Regions from separate parts of the Homo sapiens genome. Here region 1 is linked to region 2. The links are contacts of gene promoters, found by promoter capture Hi-C in blood cells and fetal thymus (Javierre and others, 2016). All regions are on one chromosome and are shown on one strand. Each heading gives the region's core, a stretch centred on a gene start or on the middle of the fragment in contact. The rest is flanking DNA. Distances are from core to core; before and after follow the strand shown. Region 1 overlaps BUB1 (BUB1 mitotic checkpoint serine/threonine kinase). Region 2 holds the start of SLC20A1 (solute carrier family 20 member 1).

Evidence for each region. Contacts are between HindIII fragments. The CHiCAGO score rates a contact against its expected background, and 5 or more counts as called.
Region 1: a contact is called between a fragment that was not itself captured here and the fragment with the promoter of SLC20A1 in region 2, in 1 of 17 cell types (fetal thymus). The highest score is 6.4, in fetal thymus.

The regions. Positions count from the first base shown.
Region 1 is chr2:110,663,876-110,669,154 of GRCh38, forward strand. It overlaps BUB1 (BUB1 mitotic checkpoint serine/threonine kinase), which reads right to left. Exons shown (of 25, transcript NM_004336.5): 7 at 3,922-3,974; 8 at 3,646-3,830; 9 at 2,388-2,539. Among named protein-coding and RNA genes, the nearest start is that of SNORD132, 8.3 kb to the left of the region's middle. The HindIII fragment of the contact is 295 bases long and covers 3,726-4,020 here.
Region 2 is chr2:112,642,807-112,647,930 of GRCh38, forward strand. It overlaps SLC20A1 (solute carrier family 20 member 1), which reads left to right and starts at 3,133. Exons shown (of 11, transcript NM_005415.5): 1 at 3,133-3,323; 2 at 3,757-4,356; 3 at 4,518-4,658; 4 at 4,847-4,932. The coding sequence starts at 4,023. SLC20A1-DT (SLC20A1 divergent transcript) reads right to left here and starts at 1,374. Exons shown (of 5, transcript NR_033871.1): 1 at 1,293-1,374; 2 at 1,153-1,209; 3 at 373-487. RefSeq lists an enhancer at 1-155 and silencers at 2,795-3,624, 4,086-4,380. The HindIII fragment of the contact is 3,268 bases long and covers 2,104-5,124 here.

The sequences.
Region 1 (5,279 bases), core at 2,623-5,122, 2.0 Mb before region 2:
AAAATTAGCCAGGCATGGTGGCAGGCGCCTGTAGTCCCAGCTACTCAGGAGGCTGAGGCAGGAGAATGGCGTGAACCCGGGAGGCGGAGCTTGCAGTGAGTTGAGACCATGCCACTGCCCTCCAGCCTGGGAGACAGTGAGACTCCATCTCAAAAAAAAAAAAAAAAAAAGAATTTAATAAGATGGCCATAAAAATTAAGGCAATCTCAAAGAAAATTAGGGGGAAAAAAGGACAAAGATAGAAAATGGTGAAATTTAAGAAAATTAAATGACCAGTCCAGGATAGCCTAACAGAGAGTATGAGGAAAAAATATCCACCTCTGAAAATATATATCAAGAAAATTCCCCAGAATTGCAAAACTAGAACATTTAAGCACTAAGTATAATGGATGAAAAGATAAATACCAGATACATCACTATGTCACAATACAGCAGGGAAAAATGATTCTACACCCCTCTAGAGAAAAACAAACATCACATCAAAGAACCAACAATCAGAAGGACTCTGGGTTTTTCCACACCAATAGCGCAAGCCAAAAAACAATGAAGGAGTGTCTTTAAAAACTCTGAGGGAATGTAAGTTCCCTCCTAGAACATTGTGCCCAACCAAATTATCAACCAAATGTGACGGTAAAATAAAGATGCTTTTAGACATGCAAGAGACCTCAAAAACTAACCCCTCAAACATGCTGCTGTTGCCTTTTTTTTTTTTTTTTTTAAATAAGCTACTGGAGAAAGTGTGCCTTCGAAATGAGGACAGTAAGGAGAGATAACGACATGGGAACCAGGGATATACCACAGGAAAGGAGCCAGGGAGAACAATTTATTAACAATTTCTTGCAACTATCCAGGGAAAATATAAATTATACAAAAAGAAATCCAAACAAATCAGAAAAAAAATGAAATGACTCAATAGAAAAATGGACAAAGCCATTCAGTCAATTTAAAGGAAAGAAGTTAAACAGCCACGAAATGTATCCAAAAAATGTCCAAATCTACCTATAATTAAAGAAACTACATCAGGTGCTTGAAAAGATTTAGTATAGTTAATGTTAGCCAAATGTGTACAAGAAACAAGTCCTTTTACACACTGTTAATGTGAGTGCACAGTCCGAAGTTTATAGAGGGCAGACTGACAGCATTTTAGGTACATACACTTGAAAGGTAGCATGATTTCTAACAGTTTCTACATGATACACTCCCTTTTATAAGGTATGACAGAAGACTATGCTGCAAGTAGAATTAGTTAGATATCTATGCAATAGCAGTGAAAGATCTATCAGAGGTGTTAGGTAGAAAAAGCAGAAAATAAGTCTTATTTATGTAGAACGTTCTATTGTATTCATATTTATGTGTTTTCATACACAATAAGTCTGGAAAAATACAAACTATAGCAGTTAGCAATAAAGGAGAACATTCAGACCAGACGTGGTGGCTCACACCTGTAATCACAACACTTTGGGAGGCTGAGGCAAGAGGATCGCTTGAGCCCAGGAGTTTGACACCAGGCTGGGCAACATGGCGAGACCCCATCTCTATAAAAATAAAATAAAAAATTAGGTGGGTGTGGTGGCACATGCCTGTGGTTGCAGCTACTAAGGAGGATACAATGAACAGTTATCATACCACTGCACTCTAGCATGGGTGACAGAGCAAGACCCCGTCTAAAAATTAAAAAAAAAAGAAAAAGAATGTTTGTGTGTGTGTGTGTGTGTGTGTGTGTGTGTGTATGCATACATACATACATATATACAAATGAATGCTCTCCTTCATATATACATATATACACACCTTTCATGTGATATTTTAAAAAACCATCTAGTCACATATTTTTATACTTTCCAAATATGTAAGAAAATAAAGTATTTTATCTTCATCGTATCCTATGTCATAGACAAACATATAATATGAAAGATTAAGCAACCATTATACAGTTTAAATGAGTTTATTTCCAATCTCCTTCATTCACTACTAATTTTAAGAAAATATATGTGGCTCTAACACACTCATCACTTCTCTGCTTTTCCAAGATGAAATAATGGCAAACAAAAAATATATCTAAATGATAAATTATTGAGAGTACTATACTCCAATTTTCATTACACAATAGTCACTGTACAAAAACCAGAAAAAGGTCTATATATAAATACATGAATATATAGACATGTACACATACACAAACATGTAAAACATACTACCATTCTGTTTTGTAACTTTCCACTCTCACTCTACATTGTGAACGTCTATGTCAAATTATTTTAGACTTTCAGAAAGTTACTAGCTAAATTAACATCAGAATTAACTCTAAAACAGCACATAGAAAGGAACAAATCAAACTGCCATTCCTGCTGCTGGGCACAGGATGTGTCATGAGGAGCACAACATACCTCGGACCTTTCCTGGGAAGCGGGCAGATCCTCATGGGATGTCTCCACCACCTGATGCAACTTCTTATGAAGTTCATCCATTTTCTGTTTTAATAGCTGTTCTTCAAAAGCATTTGCTTCTTTCCTTTTCATATAATGTCTGTCTTCATTTACTTTAGGAAAGATAGAAATGGTTTGCATGCAAAATTTAAATCCAGGTCATCATAGGAATACATGCAAAATGAGGAAAGGGTTATATTTTAGGGGGCCGATTTTTTTATTAGTCTTTCTCATATTTGGTTTTAGAAGTGAAACTTGTATTACCTTTTAATTTTTACCTGCCCACAGCTTGGCTACTACATGTTTAGGACATGTAAATTACTAAAAAAAAAAAAAAACTACATGCTGATCAAAAATAATAATAATAGCACAGTATAATAGTAAAGATTTTTGTAGCCATCATATACATGACTGTTCTTGTAAACAATCATGATTGTGCAAATCATTTTAAAATAAATTTTTATTTGTTTTTATAAGATAAAAATTTCTAGAGACTTTCTAAGTAGAAGTGAACTGCACTAAATGATCAGGGCTTCAAGCATGCTGTGGTCAGTCCCATTTCCAACAACTGGTTAACAGAGTCATGCCACAGGCAAGTCAAAGAGTCTGGCTTAAAACTTCTGGTCACAGCATGTGAAAGAAAAACACATCTATGCCCAGCACAAAATGAGTCCTCTGTGTTAACTGACTTGTCTTCTCTGTTGTCAACCGAGTATGAAAAGTAATGAACAGAAAAGAAAGGCCCAGAATGGCTATAGCCCAAATAACTTAGATAGTATAAAAGTCCTGAGTGGAATAAAGGTTCAAATAACTGACCTAGAGGTTTAGAATTACTATATACAGATAATACTGAAAAATTTTTAAATATTTATTTCACTAAAGCTAAGATGACACTGGTATGGATATCTAATTTAGTACTCTTTCAACTATGAGTTTGCTGCCAAGACATCAATTTAGTCCTTGGACTAACTTGGCTGCTACACTAGTGGTTAAGCAATTTCCAATTCAGAAAAAAAAAGTGCAGCTTGCTGCCAGCGCAGTTTTCTCGGGGCAAACGCAAAATGGGTTAATAATGATTTCTGGGCTTCTGATAGGATGAGATGAAGACTTTCTTGCAGTCTTTCAACATAGTCAATTATTCTTTAAAAAAGTAATTACTCAGAGATGAGGATTTTTTTATGTGACATAAGAATAACTAAAAATACAAGATTGCAAGTACCCCATTGCTCATGCTTTCTCCGTTGATTGTATTTCTGGGCTCTCAATTCTTCAAAGGAAAATTCTGATTCCCCACGAATAAGCTTCTCCTTGCAATACATAACAACCTGCTCAACATCAACTTTGGATGCCAAAGATGAGTGCACAGAATATTCTGATTTAGAAATCGTGATCACTCTTCGTTCCCTACAATGGGGGAAAATACATTATTTACAACAATGTACCTAAGAGCACTTAAAGGAAACTAATAATAGATTAATGCACTGATTATACTTGCATATTTGACTCTTTATCACAAGCTGAAGATATCACTCCAGAAAGCTCTGAACCCTAAAAAACAGAAAACAAACATGAGCATTCACTTATCTGAGAAGAAAGCTTCACCCAAATTACTTCACAAAACAATATGAAAATGCTTGAGGGGAAGAGGGACCTTAATCCCAAGTAGATTTATGTAATTTTAAATTATGATTAATATCAAAAGATTGTTTGTATCAACAACCTTACAATAACTATTGTAACTTAATCTAATCAAAGAAAGAGGTTTTTTTGGTTGTTGTTTTGTTTTTAATAAAGTCCTACTCAGCAGTAGAGAAGAACCATAGCTGATTTCCCTTCAATTCATAGTCTAGTAGCTAGAGTATAGTGTCTGAACATTATGGGATTGACATTCCCAACTGCTGCTAATTTTTTTTTTAATTAAAATTTTCCTCAGGTACTACTCTGCCCTCAAGAGTTCTCAAATTCCTTCACTAAACAAATATTTGCCAGACACCTCCATGTCACACTCTGAGCTAGGTCTGGGAAATGTGACTGCAATCAAGACCCATCTCTACTGTCTGGAGCTTAGACAGGACAATAGGTGGTCAGGAGGGTGGCAAGCATGTGTAGGACGTAAAATGTAAATTGGGACAAGCTGCACTACCTGTCAAAGTCAGGAGCGCATATTCTACTTCTAAGAATGTATTACATTAATGAAACCTGTACATACACCCTAAGCACACAGGCGTTTCCATTGGCTTTTGCTTCAAGGAGGTCCTTGATGAACTTTGAAAGAAAGTTGTACTGTGGAGGGTAACATGGGAAACATAGTTGGGAAACATGAGGCTGAGGGAAGAAGAGAGACTTGAGCATTTTCCCATGTTGATACACCATGGAGGCAGAAGAGATCTCCACAGGGCAAAAACCTTGATGAGGATAAGGACAAGCACAGATAGAAGGCCACCTTTTCTCACAGGGAAGGATGCAGTTACATTTATTGGTTGGTGGCAGAAAACTGATAGATGTCACTTGATGGCATCTGCTATCTGTTGAAATAGTATTTTTGAAGTTCCTGAGAGAGAGGCTAGAGGTAGCGAGGTCCCAAGTTTGAAGAGACTGAAAAGAAGTCTAAAATCACTATAGTTTGGCGCTAGAGTGAACCTGGAAACATAAGAGATACACAAAACATAAAGAGTGAATCAGACACTGGAAGCATGTCCCATTGCCTGGGAGTATGACCCATTGCCTGGGAGTATGAGACCTCCCTGTTACTTGAGGTAACAGGCAGCAATCTTTGAGGCTCTGAGTTTTGAAAGCCAGGCTCAGAAGCCCCCAGGTGGATCCATTCCCAGTAGGGATTTCCAGAGCCTATGC
Region 2 (5,124 bases), core at 1,883-4,382:
CACTTGAGCTCCCTCTACTCCAAGTAGACTATTTCCAGGATGAGTACTTCAAGTACATCGAACAGTGACCTCAAATGCATTTCCTTGACTGTGCCTCTCTGAACTAAAAAGTGCAGAAATGTCATTGCTTCCTTCTTTTGTCTGGTCTTCCACAGGGCTAGGTTGGGATCCGGGGGGAGAGTAGCTTTCCTAGCTCTCAGCAGCTCAACTCCACCGAATTAGTGAACGATGGACATGTCCCCAAGAGGACTCTAAACCCACAGTCCCCAACATGGTGTTCTGCAGCATGCCACAGGTCATCTTGTTCTGTCCTCTCTGAGGGTGAGGTTGGAGAGGGACCCTAGGCTCACAGGCTCAGTGACAGTGACTCACCAAAGATCCTGTGGGCAGTCAGGGTCTGGGCCAGGCCAGTGAGCCCATTCATATGGCATGAGCCACAACACTGTTCCTCTTCCTCCGGCAGCAGCCCGTTTTGCGTGTCCCCTCACTATGAGCCGTGGGAGAAATTTGAAAGGGCTTGGATCAGAGGGCAGGGAGAAGAGGGTGGTCCTGACATCTGACACATACTTCATTTTAAACATGGGCTATGTATGACAGGCCTTCAGCTAGTTATTGAACAAAGAGAATAAGAGCCCTTTTACAAGGGCTTTACATATATTCATTCATTTGGTCCTCACAACAGCACTGTGAGTTAGAAGTCTCAATCTCACCCCTTTACAGATCAGGAAACTGAGGCAGATAATTTATTTGCCTATGGTCACAGGACTAGTGAGTGACAGAGCAGGTGGTTTGGTCTTACAGTCTATGTGTTTAACCACTACACCAAACCACCTCCCTAAGATGCTAGAGGGGGTTTGTGCCAATGCCTGGATTCTAAGAGATTAGATTCTCTTTAGGATCTCTGACCTGTTTCCTCAGCATTCAGAGATAAGGCCAGAAACAATGCCATTTGTGCACGAACTGACAACTGACGGTCCTCCTACCTCCTATTTCTATTTAAAAGGCACTGTAACTTCTTTCCACAGGCAGATCCCTACCTCTCCTCCCTTAGGGGAGGACGAAGGTGTCCCAGCCAAGGAAGATCCTGGTCTCCAAGGGCTGTACCCTACTGATCCGGAGGCAAAGCAGTGAGGGCCCACCCCAATTCCTCACCTCCCATTCTACTCTTCGGCAGAAGCATCTCAGTGTTGGAAAGATAAGGATTTCTTCCTAAAAAGGAAGGATTACACTATATCAGAGTCTGAAGATACAGTTTTCATTTGCAACGCAAGGGAATTCCTTTGAATCTCTACCTTATGATTTCCCTGCAAACCCACTCCGATGGGGCTGGAGAGTGCTCTCTCACTCAGATGAATCTCTCAGGGGTTGTCCAGCAGGTGTTTGCCAACTTGAAGAGCTACCTACTATCACAGACCTATAAAAGTACGCCTGTGGACAGACTGAAAACAAACAAACAAAACACACACACAAACACACAAAACAACCGCACACTGGGAGAAGTTCTAGGCAATTTCCTTGCAAATAACTGCTTTGAAAATTACTGTTTTAAATTGGCAGAACACTAAGGACTTTGAACAGATCATCCCTTTTACTCAATGTTTTCATAACCTTGAAGTGAAGGTGGAGGGAGCAGTACGTTTTAAGGTGCCAGGATTACACTACGGGGTCAGTGCTCCCGGATATGAACTTTCTTTTTCAGACCGACCTTGGGACCTACAGCTTTGTAAGTTACTCATACAACTCCATCAAATGTTACAGGTAGGTCAGAGGACATTCAGGTTGTTTAAGCCTCTATAAATGACTCAGGCAGCAACAATTTACAACGTCTTTGTTTCTGCTATGCAGTGCCCTCCTGCTAGAGATGGCAAAAATGTGGGGAGGGCTTCAGAGCATTCTAAGCCTGGTATTTCTGGCTGGAATTTTTAAATCTCACTACAATCCTGACAAGAGACCACGACCTTAATCTCCCACGGCATGACTGGTTAGTCTTGATCGTAAGCCATATAATCAACACCCAAATGTGCATAACACATCTAAATAATGTCAAAACTACACTATATACCACGCAGGGGACCAGAAATCAATCTTTACCTCAAAAGGATAAGCTTCCAGGATGCAATAACATCCCCTTCCACCCTTTTCTACACCCTAAAACAGTAATATTCACGGTAACAGCAAAGCGGAAATCAGCTTTTCCTGAACATGTACTGAATTCTAGTCACATTCACACACGTTAATTCATTTAATTCCAGCCACAAGGTAGGCAGCCTCTGTTAACATTTTACAATTGTGAGAACGCAGAGATCTGGGACTGGCTCAAGGTGACACACTGCAGCAAGGAGTCAGAATTTGAATCCGAAGCAGTGTCCTTCCCCCTCGCAACAGCTGCGGCGTTACAAACACAGGTCAGCCACGGAGAAATTAATGACCCACAGCCATCCTTGCAGCTCTGCGCCATAACTGGGGAGACAAGCTGGTTCCCGTGACTCTTCAGTCTGTTTTCACCCAAGTGCATGACTGCGGGAGCAAAGCGACCACGTGAGCATCCCCCCCCCACCCCCCCGCTTCCCCCAGGCGAGGGACAGTGCCAGGCCAAGGACAAGTCACAGGTGCAACAACGTGCCAGAACTGGATCCGGAGCCCCAGGGCGCAAGATCTCCCGCAGCGTCACCCGGCAGAGGGACGGGTGTGGCCACCGGGCGCGGCAGGTCCTGCGTGCGCTGAAAGTGCGGCTGGAGGCGCGGACGGCTTTCCGGAGCCCCGAGAGAGGAGCTAGGAATGACTTTGGTCGCAGCCTCTGTAACCCCGCATGACGGCCTCTAGGGGGACAGCGAGGTCCCCCTCGATCTCTGGCTGTAATCAGCCGGCGGGGCCAGACGGTGCCGAGACTCCAGGGCGAGGCCGCAGGGAGGGGGCTGTCCCGCCCCACGTGGACCGGCTCCCCGCTGGGGGCGTGGCCGCCGAAGCGGGCCGGGCCAATGAGCGCCACCGTCGGGCTCACCCGGCTGGGCACGCCGGGCCGAGGAGGGCTGCGTCATGCCGGGGGCGGGGCTTCGGGGCCGGCGCGAGGCGCGGCGGGGTCACGCGGGTCGCTGCGCGGGCTATAAGTAGGGGCCGGCGGGGTGCTCCGCTGGAGTGATGGCTGCCGGCGCTCTCTGCGTGGTTCTTCTTCTCGGCCGCTGAAACCCCCGCGGCTGCTTCCTGGGAAGGTCGTGAGTCCCGCTGAGCTGTCCCCGGTGCCGCCGACCCGGGCCGTGTGCCCGTGGCTCCAGCCGCTGTCGCCTCGATCTCCTCGTCTCCCGCTCCGCCCTCCCTTTTCCCTGGTGAGTAGTGGCGCCGCCTCGTAAAGGCTCTTTCTTCTCCCCGGGGCCGGGCGCGGACGCCGTGGCGCTGGAGGCGGACGCCGTGGGCGGCGCGGCTGGCTTCTCTCTTCGCCGCTGGCCGCCTCCACTCCGCCCGTCTGCCCGCCCGCGGGCCTTTTTGGCGGTCCCCGGGCGGCGCGCGCGGGAACGGCCCTTTTCCGATTTTCGCGCGGAGGGCGCGCGCGGGCTGGCAGCGCAGGGGCTGGGCTGGGCGCGCGCGGGCCGCGGAGGACCCGGAGCCACGTGCCTCTCCTTCTCGCGCGTCCTACTGGGGATGGGGGTCTGGAGTAGCCGGCAGAGGCTATTGCGGGACCCCGGGCGCGTGGGTAGAGCGGGGTGCCCCACTGGCCCCCCAGGGGCACGCAGCTATTGTTATTTCCCCCCTCCCCCGCAGGATGAACTTGCGTCCTTTCTCTTCTCCGCCATGGAATTCTGCTCCGTGCTTTTAGCCCTCCTGAGCCAAAGAAACCCCAGACAACAGATGCCCATACGCAGCGTATAGCAGTAACTCCCCAGCTCGGTTTCTGTGCCGTAGTTTACAGTATTTAATTTTATATAATATATATTATTTATTATAGCATTTTTGATACCTCATATTCTGTTTACACATCTTGAAAGGCGCTCAGTAGTTCTCTTACTAAACAACCACTACTCCAGAGAATGGCAACGCTGATTACCAGTACTACAGCTGCTACCGCCGCTTCTGGTCCTTTGGTGGACTACCTATGGATGCTCATCCTGGGCTTCATTATTGCATTTGTCTTGGCATTCTCCGTGGGAGCCAATGATGTAGCAAATTCTTTTGGTACAGCTGTGGGCTCAGGTGTAGTGACCCTGAAGCAAGCCTGCATCCTAGCTAGCATCTTTGAAACAGTGGGCTCTGTCTTACTGGGGGCCAAAGTGAGCGAAACCATCCGGAAGGGCTTGATTGACGTGGAGATGTACAACTCGACTCAAGGGCTGCTGATGGCCGGCTCAGTCAGTGCTATGTTTGGTAAGTTCTTTTTATGTTTTGTCCTCTTCGTGGTGGGTGAGCAAATTTGTATCATGGGTGGTTCCATTTTTGTGCATAACCTTTCCGATTAACCTTTCTGAATGTGCCACTTACATAATGGAATTTTGATATTTACTTAATAAAACTTTACTATGTTTCAGGTTCTGCTGTGTGGCAACTCGTGGCTTCGTTTTTGAAGCTCCCTATTTCTGGAACCCATTGTATTGTTGGTGCAACTATTGGTTTCTCCCTCGTGGCAAAGGGGCAGGAGGGTGTCAAGTGGTCTGAACTGATAAAAATTGGTATGTTTAATTCCAAACGGCTTCTTAATTTTCGTTTTCGTCATATGTTACCATGGCATTAGGTATGGGAGGATGTGTTCTAACGTCGAGGGACAGACCCAAGAATTTTGAACTCTTAAACATTTAAAGTGGTTTTTGGTTTCTGATTTTCATTATTTGATATTTTTTCTTAATGTGTTCTATTCCAGTGATGTCTTGGTTCGTGTCCCCACTGCTTTCTGGAATTATGTCTGGAATTTTATTCTTCCTGGTTCGTGCATTCATCCTCCATAAGGTAACCTTTCTCCCCCGTATGAAGACCTTTCATGGAGCACACCCAATCGATTTCAAACCCAGTGGTACTTTTGCAGATGTGATTGGTGTATAGGTATGCGGCCTTGGAAAATTTTAAAAAGCTCTTTGTTCTGTGCATTTCTTGTATGTTGTGGAGTTCTCTGAAAGCGAGTTTTTAATACTCAAGAGGGCA